Linked DNA regions of Homo sapiens: region 1 is linked to region 2. The links are contacts of gene promoters, found by promoter capture Hi-C in blood cells and fetal thymus (Javierre and others, 2016). All regions are on one chromosome and are shown on one strand. Each heading gives the region's core, a stretch centred on a gene start or on the middle of the fragment in contact. The rest is flanking DNA. Distances are from core to core; before and after follow the strand shown. Region 1 overlaps ANK2 (ankyrin 2). Region 2 holds the start of UGT8 (UDP glycosyltransferase 8).

Region 1 (7,264 bases), core at 1,957-4,456, 1.4 Mb after region 2:
TAGTAATAAATTTTTTACAGAATGATTCATGTCAACCTTTAGGCTGAAGAAAATATTAGTCAAATACCATGACAAAACAATTCTGTGATTCATGGTATTGAATATTATAAGCAACAGGCTCTTAATAAATTAATGAATGTAATAAATATTTTATTAATTGATTTGTAGATTTTTCCAGATTGTTTATTTAAATAATCATAACTTCTGTATAAAACAGCATTTTGGCTCCTCTCTCCGGTCCGTGCCTCCAAGATGACAAAGAAAAGAAGGAACAATGGTCGTGCCAAAAAGGGCCGCGGCCACGTGCAGCCTATTCGCTGCACTAACTGTGCCCGATGCGTGCCCAAGGACAAGGCCATTAAGAAATTCGTCATTCGAAACATAGTGGAGGCCGCAGCAGTCAGGGACATTTCTGAAGCGAGCGTCTTCGATGCCTATGTGCTTCCCAAGCTGTATGTGAAGCTACATTACTGTGTGAGTTGTGCAATTCACAGCAAAGTAGTCAGGAATCGATCTCGTGAAGCCCGCAAGGACCGAACACCCCCACCCCGATTTAGACCTGCGGGTGCTGCCCCACGTCCCCCACCAAAGCCCATGTAAGGAGCTGAGTTCTTAAAGACTGAAGACAGGCTATTCTCTGGAGAAAAATAAAATGGAAATTGTACTTAAAAAAAAAATAAAAAAAAAAAATAAATAAAACAGCATTTTGTCGTTTCTTTTTCCATTTATATTCATAGTTCTCTTTCTCTTTTCATTGCACTGGCTAGGGATTGATTGCAATGTCAAATAGTATCGCAAACAGGAATCCTTTTCTTGTTACTGCCTTTAATGAGAATACTGATGTTTGCAGTGGTTTTTGGAACGTTTCCTCTGCAAAGAACCTGATATTCCTAGTTGGATGCTTTTCAACAATTATTAACATTTAATCTATTGATCTATTTAATCTGGAATTAATTTTAAAATTTTAAAACTAGCCAACTAGGAATATCGGGCTGATTCCAGAGGGCATATTTGCAGATTAAAATTTAAATTAAATCAATGTAAATTATTTGCATATATTAATGAATCACTTGAATATTAAAATATTGAATCAAAGATTTATATTATAGGGGAACACTACACTGACCCATAAAAGTATGACCTATTAGCCCTTCTCAAGACTTATATTTGAGACAGCTGCCCACATAGTATTTGCCCAAATAGCAGGTGTTGCATGGAACTTTACATTTATAGAAACCTAGCCCATATAATCAAGAACATTAGATATCTTTTAAATAGCAGCTTAAAATTGGTTCTTCACATTTTTAAACTTGTGACTTTAGCTTCACTGATACTTTGTTCTAAGGTATATTATATTATAGACACTTCAAAAATCATTTTACTATTATGACACAAGCAAATGTAAACACAATACATTTTAGGTTTGTGATATTCCATTTAGAATTTTCCAGACTTAGAATTACCTTCTGAAAGTGATTTTCAAAAATAATATTTGGTTAAAACACATTTTGTTAGTTGGACTTCTATTTTCACCATCCAGACTATCTAAGATGAGAATCTTCATTCTTTTTCCCATTAGCTTGAAGCTTCAAGTCTCAGTAGGAGATCAATGTCTATACTATAAGTGTTTTAACAATTAAATTACTTAAGGGTCTTTAGGCATTGTGTTTAGGTGAATGCAATTTCATATACTCAAATTGACAGTGTTCTAAGGAGGTTGTGAAACAAGCCAGTCACACAAACTGACTTTGTTATGTTCTTCATTGTGCCAAGAAAAGGCAGCAGTGGGCATACAGAATGGCTGGTCTTGCATGGCTGCACTAGTGCTGAATTTGGTAACAATGACAGCTAACAGTCATTGAGCTCTTAGAATTGCCAGGCATTGTTCTAAATGCCGAACATGGATTAATCTCACAACAACTGTTTGCTGAAGGTACTGTTATTATGATCCCCCTATCACAGATGAGAACTCTGAGACACATTTACATGAGTAGAAAGCAGAATAGCTCATGAGTTACATGAGTAGAAAGCAGAAGAGCTGAAATTTGACCTCTGGGATTTGACCACCTAGCTTCAGAATTTGCGTTCTTATCCATTTCACTATGCTGCCTACCTCAGTCAATGTCAAAAGAGATCGCTGGCCATTTTAAAGTCTTAAAAACTTCTTCTTCATAGCTTTAAGAGTAGAAATAAAGAGTAGAAATAACCAGAGGATTCCAATTATTACACATAGATAGGTATTAATAGCTATAGCTAACTGTATTGTACATGCATTCAAATTTATATTTACCATGTTTAGTCAATTACTGGGCTTTGCATATCTTCCCAATTAAGAAAGGAAATAAACACTAAAGAATAATATCTGAAAAAAAGTTATTAGTAATTGCACCAAATATGAAAACTTTGAAAAAAATAAGATATAATACAGATTACAATTTTCATCTTTCAAGAATGATTATGTAATTAATCAAAGTTTGGGGTTTAAATCAAATCACTTTTGGTACATAGGCAGTTACCTAAACTCTCAGTTTCCTCTGTATAAAATGAAGAAAGCAATGCCTGACATCTATGCAAATTATGTATTAAGCTGTAATAAAATATTGTCAATAAATATTGTCACGCTTTTCAGGATTTTAGACATATATAACTGGAGAACTCCATTAAGGAGCAGTAAAGATGTAATTGTTTATAAAGCAAGATAATATAGCATAAAGAGAATTTAACTGTATAGAAAGGAACAAAAAAAATACTTCTGAGAAAGGCCATTGTACTTGAAAGTTGGGAATGGAGAATTAGGTTTGTTCTCCATATACTTTTGCATTGTTTTGATTGCTTAAAATAGAATATATTCATGTTACAAACATATGGAGTATTTAGCCAGATATCAGAAGACACAAATTTGGATGAGACACTTGACCCTGTGAATTTCAAATTCCTGTAATAAGTGTTATGGACACAATGTCTCTAATAGCCCCTTCCAGTTATACACTGAAGTGATTTAGTTAAGAGTATAATATGTGAAGAATGTAAGAGGCTCTCACACCCCCCAAGTAAAGCAAAATATTTGCATTTGTTTACGGAAAAGTTGTCTTCAAAATAGTTAAAACACTATCTACATTTTATTGCTTCCACAATTTTTGGTCAAAACACAATGCACAATGCTAACCTAGAAGGTTGAGATCTTTCTAAAAAAAACTTCAAGAAATAGGAAGAACACCAAAACATCCATCTTAGATGATGTTGTCTGTGGAGACTTACTCCAAAATGCAAGCTGTTTGATTATTAATCAATGGCACATTACGTGAAAGAAGGAAAAGAGCTGCCACCTCTCAAGCCTTTGCACCTGGTCCAATTGTCAAATGTTAGTGAGTTATGAACAAGAATGATGCACAAATTATCATTAGCTCGATACATTGTGCTCACATTGATGCAAGAATCCTTTCCTAGTCTGGCAGATTATAATTGTCTGTGAATAGAAGTTCCAAATCTCTGATCTGACTATCTTGATACAGTTGAATGTATAGAATTTGGTTTATTCTTCATCTCTCTTCTCCATCAGTTAAGTTACCAGGTTTCTATCAACAGTCCTTATAGATTTTGTTGAGCAATACTTATTTCCACTGCTCTCCTCTGCTTCTTTCTGATATTCTTTATTTGAGTGCAATATTCTTTATTTGAATGCAAATTTAGATTTGAATTATTTGAATGAATTTAGATTTCCTTGTCCTCTTATTCCTAAGAATCAATAAATCTAATAAATAGGGAGGGAAAGTAATTCAGGACCTAAAGAACCAACAAAAACTGATCTCGTGCTTCCCACAAAGGTAGTATAATAGCCTTCCCATGCTCATGAAGCTAACAATGAAAATAATAAATATAACAACAGCAACTAACGTAGAGTGCCCCTATATGCTAAGGATTGTGTTAAGCGTTTTACATAATTATTTCTTTCAACCCTCACAAAAACTCAATTTTATGTACTGTAATTATTCCTTACCTGTTTTACAGATAAGCAAATTGAAGCACAGAAATGGGAGATAACTTGTCCAAGGTCACAAGGCTAGTGAGTGATGGAAGCAGTACTTAAATCTAGTTTATCTGACTCTGGATTCTTGCTTCTAACCAGTGCTAAACTGAAGACAGTCCAGGTTTAAATCAAATGCTGATATCACTGGACTTGATTAGCTCTCATTTTAATTCTTCCAAGCCTGCTACTTTTTACTCATTTTATACTAAGGACCCAAAGTCCTCTGGTCAATTATTATAACTTTTTCAGTTTTTTTGACATATGCCTCAAATTTTCTTCATCTTATTTTCTTCAATGTGAAAATTGTCCCTAAAACATAAACCCTCTTCTATCTCTTGCTGGTAAAGGAAACCAAAATATTTTATCCCCAAAATAGAAGACAGAGCAGGGATCCCCTCTTAGGGACCTGCAGGCTCCCCAAGCATAGAAATAAAGGAAAATCTTGAGTTCCTTCAAGGGGAATTCCAGGCATGTAGCTAACCCTGAGAAGTAAATAAGAAACTTGATGAGCAAGAAGGTAATAGCAGCCAAGGAAGCTAGAATCACAAGATGTTTGGTTCCCCTATAGGCACAAAAGCTAACATCTTAACATATGTCTCTGAGTTCTGTCTCAGAAACCCAGACCCCCACCAAATAGATCTGCTGGCACAGAAGCCCCTGGTAAGGGGGAACGGAGGACTGAACTCTGGCCAACATTCTTTGTTTTACACTTCCTCCTGAGGGGCCTGAAAAAAGTCATGCCCATGAACCCAGGCTAACATTCTTTTCTGCTGACCCTACATTTTTAAACAAAGCTTCTCTTCCTTACCCAACTGCAAATCAGAAAATCTGTGACCTGTAAGTCCTCCGCTTCAAGATACTCTGACCTTTTAGGCCAAAACCAATGTGGAACCTCCATGTTTTGATTTACAATTTTGCCTGTAACTTCTGCTTTCTGAAATTTACCCCCGCCTTTAAAAATCTTTACCTGCAAGCCATCAGGGAGGTCAGGATTTAAGCATGAGCTGCCTGATCCTCCTTGTTAGGCACCCTGCCAATAAACACCTTCCTTTCTCCCGCTGAAAACCTTGGTGTGGATATCTGGTATTGCTATACAGGGCGAGTGGGCCCCAGTTTGGTTCGATAACAAATATTCTTCTTTGACATATTTTGAGATGGCCGTTCAGAGGGCCTACAAAAAGAAGTAGCCCTGCAAAGCTGTCCTGTGGGGGAGATTTGCATCTGTAGAGAATCTGCATTGATGCAGCCAGGCTTTCTCTGTGGGCCCTCCCTTGTCTGGATCTAGAAAAAGTGAACTGAGAGTCTGACATCTTCAAAGGTCTGAAAGAAACATTCACCATCTATTTTCTCCAAGGGCTACTACTACTGGTGAGGTTTCATCTATATAGCAAGACCTCCTTTGTTAGCTAGACCTCGCCTTCTCCCCCTCCCATAACTTGTTTTGCCATGCTCCAGGCCCCTATTCTTTCTGTATCCTCAAAATGGTATAAAAGTGTCAATCATCTGGCCATTTATTTGAGTTGTTATAGTTTTGTATGGCTCCCATGTATGTTAATCCATTTGTATTCCTTTTCTCCTATTAATCTGCCTTTCTGTTAGTTGATTTTTAGCCAGCCTTCAGAGGATGAAGGGGAAGTATGCCCTTTGCCTCTTCACTGTCTTTACTGCTCCGGCAGTCTCATTCGAGTCCACTGCTTTAATAACCATTTACATCAAATGATGTAATAACCACTTATATTTCTTTTAGGGATGTATAACAAGCAGTTCAAATGCTATTCATGATCTCTTACTCTCCTCACCAAAACCAAAAACAAAACCAGAAACAAAGTGGCTCATGCCTATAATCCCAGCACTTTGGGAGGTGGAGGTGGAAGGACTGCTTGAACCCAGGAGTTCAAGGCCAGTCTGGGCGAGATAGCAAGACCCTGTCTCTACAAAACATTTAAAAAATTAGTTCAGCATGTTGGTGCATGTTTGTAGTCCTAGCTACTCAGAAAGCTGAGGTAGGAGGGTTGCTTGAGCCTGGGAGTTTGAGACTGCAGTGAGCTATATCATGCCACTGCACTCCAGCTTGGGTGACAGAGTGAGATTCCATCTCAAAAAAAATAAAATAAAATAAACAAACAAATCTTTGTCTTTATGCACTGTTTTATATTATAGTGTTGCATTACCATCTATACTGTTAGGCAAGGGAGAGATCTATTGACACTATCGTCTTCCTCTCCTCCCATAGGCCATCATCATCAAGTGCTCTGAAACTGGTCCTTAATCAGTCTTATAACAGTCCCCTTTTCTCCATCATCCAGACCACTACTACTCCATTCCAAGCTAACATCACCTCTTATATGGAGTAGATCATGACAACGGTCTCCAAATGATTTGCTTTGCATTGCACCTGACTCCCTTCGACTTGTTCTCCAAGCTGCACCAGGGTCATGTTTTCAGAATCCAAAACAGAATCCTGAGCTTGTTCCACCCCCAAGCCAGCTTCATATTGGGCTTAGGATACAAGTCTTAGAACGAAAACCTTAATATGGCTCATAAAATCTTTCAGGATCTGACTTTCTTCCTCAGGCTTCATTTCATACACTGCATTTCCCCTGGATGTTTCAGCTTCCAGATAGCCCATTTCTTTTAGGTTCTTGCATGTATGATTGTATTTGCCCATAGCACACTTCATCCCCTGACCGCTGATGTGCGCATTAACACTTTCTTTTATAAAAGAAGTTCAGTTACCACTTCCTAGGTCTTCTTCCGCATGCCCCCTGCCCACCTCATCATTGTAGGCTTAGCAAGTGTTCGAGGGCACACACTGGATGCCCAAATACCTGCTGAGTGAGTGAGTGCGTGAATTATTACTTCCAATCAGTTTCTATTGGAAAGTTTAATTCGTGTCATGTTTTTACTTCTTCTTTTTTTTTTTTTTTTTTTTGCTTTGTGATCCTTGCCTCAAAGGATCACCATTTTGGTTCTTGATGGTTTCACCTAGCTTCTTAGTTGTTGTGGAATATACACATTAATGCTGTTAGATTTGAGGTAAGAAGCAGAATGCTACAGTACTATTTTAACCATTTACTACCAGAGTAGCTTATCTTTCATTTTAACTCAGAAGGGGAGAAAAAGAAGTAACTCTTATGTAAAATTTGAAGTCTATTTCTATTAACAGAACTTGGAGACCATTTACTTTTCTCCCTACAAGTCTTAACTGACTACAAATTTAGTTCCTTTAAAATGCAA
Region 2 (6,600 bases), core at 3,051-5,550:
CACCTAATCTTAGAGGTTCTACCACCTGAATATCGTTGTAACCAAACCCCTTTTTTTCATCCCACTGCCAACACTTTGGTACAAGGACCTCAACCTCTCTTACCAAAGCCACCCCAATATCTTCTAAACTACCATCCAAATCTCACATTCCTCAGATCCATCCTTCTAGATTGCTTGCTGTAAGAGCTGTTTTCTCATCACATAGCTCCTCTGTTTAAAACAACCTTAAACTGAAAATAGTCCATACTCCTGAGAATGGCAAACAGCCCTCCATGATCTTGCTCCTGCCTCCAGTGATTCATCTTTTATGTCACCCTCTAAGAAACCCTCAAATCTCCTGTCCCCACACAGAATTGACCACTTCCAAATTTCTGCTCAGGGTACTGTGTGTGTATCTCTATCACGGCACTTACAGAACAGCCAGCACTATACTGTAGATATTGAAAATAGCCTGTTTCCTCCTTGTCTCCCCCTTTTAAACCTAGAGCCCTCCCAGGGCCTTAATTGTATGCACATCCCCAGAGCACAGTGCTTGGCACACAGTATGCTTTTAACAAATATTTGTTGAATAAAAGAATGAATGTTTGTGAAATGCTTCAGATTAAGGAGATATGATTACCACTGTTTTCAAGATCAAATTAAACCATTTTAATCATATGTATTTGATTATGTACCTCCTCCATAAGTAGATTTGCAAAATAATATTTAAATAATTCATGTAGCCTCAAGTATGGTTAGCAGGATTCTCAAATCATACTTCTTATTCTGGACTTCCGGGGTAGAAAAATATTAACTACACTACATTATAGTTAGTAAGTTTCAATGGCAGAAAGTAATATGTAAAATATTCTAGTATACATATTCCTAAACAAAGACGATCTGGGCCTATCATAAGAAAGTAAACTTTTTTTTAAAGGCTGCTTCAGTTTCTCAGAAACACCAAGATATTCCAGAAGACTGAATTGTCTGAAATTAATACACCCTCCTAAAGATCTCATACACAAATTTTTTCTATAAAAGGTACATTAAAACCTTTTATATAGAGGTCACCCTTCTGGAAACCTAAACATTTCAGTTCACAGTCCAAACCACAAATAAAGCACGTAAACTGAAAGTGTCTGTCACAAAGTCTACAGGATTTACACTCGGGCAATAGCCCACATCATTTGATGGAAAAAAAGACAACAGATAATAGAGCAGCAGGGCCCACTCACAGTCTGACAGCAGCAGAAAGTGATAGCCAATAACAGAAAGAGGACCCAGAAAAAAAAAAAAAACATAAAAAGAAGAATGGTACTTCTGTCTCTATTCTAGTATTTCAACCCAGCAGGCTGAGACCATTTACTATAAACAAAAACAGCTCTATACACCTCAGCGAATAGCACTATTCAATTCTTTATGAATTCATAAAGACAACCCAACAAGAAAGAATAACTTATATCCAATATTCTCCAAGGGAACAAGGAAGACAGTAAGATTTAGAAATTGCTTGTGGGTTATAATGGCTCTTTTTTTTTAAGTTTCAGTAATAAACGGTGTGAAGAGTCAGCTACCGAGAAAATGTGCTTATGTAAATAAGTACCAATGCAGATGAGGTCAAATAAATGAGATACTATATCTTGCATAAATAATCAAAGTTCTCACTCTCCAAGGATATCTTAGAAATTCCCAGGTGTATGTTGGAAAATCCTAGTATGAATTAAAAAGCAACAAATTGATATTATTTGATAAACAGGTGCATGATTTTAAAAAGGATTTGAGGATTGAAGATGGGATTTTTAGCAATATTTAAATGGTAATGAAGCTGATAGTTGTTCATAAGGTGCAATAAAATGTTTTAATTTAAATTATTGGGAAATGTAAACTGTCAAAATCTTTAAACGAAAAGTAGTTTTTATCCAAAAAAATTGTCATAAGCATCTTTATTTACTGCATTGGTTTATTTATTCTAAGACGCGTACCAAGCTTAAATACAACAAGCATAGTCCTCTGGAAATCTTAGATTTAAAAAGAGTTTGAACCTGTATAGTAGTATTACCTGGAAAAAGTCAGAAGTATAGTTTCTGTTCAGTTATGCCCAACCTCCTAATAGAGTATCAAGCCTTTACTAAATATCGGGGCACTATGCTTTATTGTAGTTTTTAAAGACTTGTATAATACTAAGTCACACAACACTAGATGTCAACTTAACCTTGTAGGTGGCAGGCAAATCATACAATACTAGAGTGTTTTTCTCTGGCATTATCTAGAAGAGTTGCTGAACACAGACACATTCCTAAAGCAAAACCTCAAACCACCAAGAGACAGTTTCTATAGGAGAAAACTAAGCTGGCTAAGATTTAATTCAAGTAACACAAAGTTCTGGTCTCCTTTACCATATAATATTAAGATGCATGACTCTAATTTTAAAATCTCCTGGGGACAAAGTATGGTTACTCTTAACACTATTAAAATATTGGTTAAAGATAACCATTGGGTACTGGGCTTAATAACTGAGTGATGAAATAATATGTAAAACAAACCCCTGTGACATGTGTTTACCTATGTAACAACCCTTCACATGTACCCCAAAACCTAAAATAAAAGTTTTTAAAAAAGAAAAGAAAAAAGGGCACTTTCTATCCTTCCTTCAAATGGTGGTGATTTTTTTCTGGGGATATGTCAGAAGCACGCCAATTTTGAGTGAATATAGACGTTTTTGAACATGAAATTATCAGAAATGATAACAATTTGGCATCTAGCCAAACTCCCTAACATTCACGTCATTGATACTGAAAAACTGGTAGTACAAGGTGACAGCCTGAGGGGACTGAAGATTTTTGGAGTATTTGGAGTAGTGTGGTTTTTTTCTAATTTTTACCAATAGGATCCCCAGAAATAAAAGACTCTATCGTCACTGCTAACACTGGCTCATAATAAAGGTGATTCTCCAGAGCACGCCTGGTTTGATACCGCCACCCACTCCTTCCCTTGGCGACATTTTCCTGCTAAGAACGCCTAGTTAGCGCAATCCAGCCATTCGCGTTAGTTCTCAGAACTCTCTCAGAAGTTCTCTACCTTCTCTCCTCTCCCCGCCTAGATGCTGAAAGGTGATGGGAACTCGCGGTACAGGTACAGAGGCTATTCCTTTCCTAAGGAAGTGCTGCACAATGGCAGGTTTACCGTACTCAATTTTATAAACCCTCAATTAAACCAGAAAGCTTGTATATAGAGATTGGGTACCCCGCCCACCTCCTCAGATTGTCCTTTTGCCCCGACGCACTGCATCTACTTGCACTCTCCGATGCGGTTTGCCTCCTTCAAATCCAAAACACACATACCAGGCTCCCTCGCCGCTCCTCCAGTCCATGGAAGGCGCCCTTCTTTTTGCCAGCAGCGCGTCCTTCTCTCCCCGCCCGCAGGCGCTCACCTCTTCTCTAATCCCGGGGGCCCGCACAGGCTTCTCTAATGCAAGGGCACCCCGTACCATTCCCAAATCGGCGCGGGGACCCGTGAAACCCTGCCACCACTGTACACTGTCCATTGTCGAGAGTCGCGCGGGCACGCGGAAACGGCGGGCCCCGAAAAGTCTCAGCGAGCTTGTACAGCCCCAAGACATTCCCCACCCCCAACACATCCCGCTCTTGTTCCTCCTTAGGGGGAAGACGGAGTAAAGGGGAGTTGAAGAGGTCCCGAAGCTCCTCCTGGTCCCCCACCTCCATCCCTGCCCTGGCAGCTGGCTCTGGCCTCTGGGCTCCGCGGTGCCCATCCCTTCAGGGGTCAAGTACAAGGTCCTCGGCCGAATCGCCTCCCCGTTATACCCTCCCTCTGCCTTGAGCGCACAAACGCGAGAGAACCCTCGAACGGATGCCATATGGCAGAAACAGGATCGCGGGCGCTATGAGGGGCCAGCCTAAAAAGATCTCCTTCACACCCCCTCAACCCCTAGCCTTTCTCCCTACCCCGCCAACCCCCACTAACCACTTCTAACTTCCTCAGCCCAACCCTGTCTGTGCTTTCTAATTCCCACCCCCCCGCCCCTGGACAGCAGCCATTCGCCCGGCACTCACCTCAGGGAGCAAACAACGCCCCTCTCCTCCACCCAGACCGCCCCCCCTTCCGCCCTCTGGAACGGCGTGGTCCCTCCGCTCACCTCGTCTCTTGGCTGCCCCGCGCGAGTTTGAGTGTGTGTCTGCCGCGTAATTGTATCCGGGACAGAAGGGACCTGTGTTTGTGCGCTGAATCAGGTGTCGCCGCCTTCGGTGGTTCGGGGGCGTAAGGGAGGCTTCGGAGTTAGCGTGTTGGCTAAGGAGGGCTCTCTGGGTTCACAGTTGATAGCAATGCTTTAACCGTGTCCTCCCTCGGGTCCTCAGCGCGCCTGCTCGTCCGCAGCTCCCAGCGGGCGGCCAGGCCCCCCGCCCCCCAGCCGCGCCCCGCCCTGCGTGCGGCGAGCAGAGTCGGAGCGCGCCGCTGCCCTTCCGCACTTGGCTCAGCGGGGCACGACACGGGCCGCCACGCGCTCAGCCTAGCATCACTCGCCTCTGACTGCGAGCGCCTCCAGCTCCCCGGGCTGGGGCATGGATGCAGACGCGCCTTCGTACCACGCGCTCGCAGGCTGGGCAAGGGGCAGCGCGTTGGGATCCGGCCAGTCGTCCGCTGAGCGAGGTTGGCTTGCAGGCTGGGACTTTTCGCGAGCCCTCTGGGCGCTCGAGTTGCGAACTCTGACAACGGCACGTGGCCCCGCCCACTCTTCCCTCTTTGCGAGGCGTGTCCCGCGCCCTTTCTGCCACCACCCACGTAGTCCCTGTGCCCGCCTTTTATCATCAAGGCGGCTCAGTGAGCTCTGCGTGTTGATGTCGCGCCTTTTCTCATCTTCCTGCCTTTCCTGCCTCACTTCTGCTGAATCCATTCAAAAGTTATACTTGGGCAAGTGGGTGGAGGAGTTAGGAAAATTAAAAGAGGGATGCTTAGGTGAGCAGGTACCTGCACTGCCGCCAACCCAGGCTTCAATTCTGGCTCTCTTGTAGCGGAAAGCCTTAAAAAACGCGAGTTTGGGGATCCTGAAAAAAAGTAAATAGGGTTGCTGGGCTGAATAACATCCCTCCTCTCAGGCTCCTGCTGAAAGGGCCATTCATGATTTGCCTGGTTGAGCCTGTGGCGACTTTATTCTGACGAATCTGCCTTTGCCAGCAGCATAACCTTGCCAAGTTGGCGTCTTGACCAGCAAGCAACTGTGCCCAAGGAAGCCTCTCTGTGGTGCCTCAGACCTGAGAGGCCGAGTGCCTTTGAGCGCCTGAGGTAGATTGTGAGTTTCATGAAAACCGAGAAAGTCTAAGTGTGCATGTGCGTAAGATATTTTATATATATATATCTCATATATATATGAGATATGTCTATATAACGTGGACTGAATTGTTTATTGTTTATGTTTCGTGTCGAGCATAAATTCCAGAAGCTAAGATGCTTCCATAGCACACAAACGTTATGCGTTTAAACGTTGGAAATCAAAAATGCCATGTCAGGTCATTCTGTCCTTGTTCCAAAGTGAGATTCAGAAATAGGTTGGGATTTTCTGCCCTTAGATAAGAAAACGGAAATTATATTTTACTGTATATGTTATCAGTTAATGATAAATTAAAAAACTAATATACACTGCTGTTATTGTAAAATCCATATGCTCAAGAATGTTCATGGATGGAGAGATCTTCAAATGCCATTTCAAAAAAGAAAATGCACTTTTCTTCTTTGCAGATTAGGAATTTGAACATATTCCCTGTGCAAAATGCAGGGAATATTTTCACAGCCTTTGTACCTGATTACCATACTCTCTATTTATTTCTTATTTAAATTGCACTAGAAAACCTAAAGTAAATGAAATGTAACATAATAAAGAAAAGAGAATTTAGACATTTACTTTAAAAGCTTTATTTCTCAAAGGTCAAGCTTCAGTTTCAAGCTACTGTTTGATGATGCATATGTAAATTCTTGGTAAAAACTTGATCATTAGCAATTAAAACAACTTTTTTCTTTTATTATATAAAAATGTTTAAAATTGTTTCACCACATCCTTGTCCTTAAAATGGTGTAAACTGACCATTGTGTAAGGTTTTTGTCAGATTTTTGGATAGAAAAGGAGTATATATTATGTGTAGATATGTCCATGTTTATTGTTTCTCTAATCTATCTATTTTTGTCCACATTAAATACTGATTATTGAATTTCTCACAGCTCTACACAGTAAGGGTGTTCCATAATGTAAAACAAGTTTATTCAATCATCATATGAATAGTTGAAATACACTTTTGGAGTTTGAAATGATAAAAGCAAGAAATCAGTGAGGTTCATTTCACCGCCCCACCCCACTTTTCCTTTTTTTAATGCTCCCACCTTTAATTGTTAACATTATTGGCTAAGTGGTTGAATAAATGAATAATGAAAACATTTGCTACTTCTCTTTAAGGAAGGATGCATATTTTCCATATTTAATGTATCCTTCAAGCTCCCATTCAGATTAAACAAGATTCTCCCTATCATCTTTAGTTTATAGAATGTTGAATGGGACAGCATAGCCTGCAGTGAGAAAGTTTCAGCCAATGTGGAGTATGGTATTAAAATTCCCTC

Evidence for each region. The method cuts DNA at HindIII sites, captures the fragments that hold promoters and counts their contacts. A CHiCAGO score of 5 or more calls a contact.
Region 1: a contact is called between a fragment that was not itself captured here and the fragment with the promoter of UGT8 in region 2, in 1 of 17 cell types (endothelial precursors). The highest score is 5.9, in endothelial precursors.

Annotation. Positions count from the first base shown.
Region 1 is chr4:113,207,382-113,214,645 of GRCh38, reverse strand. The region is part of intron 4 of ANK2 (ankyrin 2); the gene reads right to left. It also overlaps the pseudogene RPS26P25. Among named protein-coding and RNA genes, the nearest start is that of MIR8082, 59 kb to the right of the region's middle. The HindIII fragment of the contact is 3,235 bases long and covers 1,589-4,823 here.
Region 2 is chr4:114,596,507-114,603,106 of GRCh38, reverse strand. It overlaps UGT8 (UDP glycosyltransferase 8), which reads right to left and starts at 4,300. Exons shown (of 6, transcript NM_001128174.3): 1 at 4,133-4,300. The HindIII fragment of the contact is 2,701 bases long and covers 3,203-5,903 here.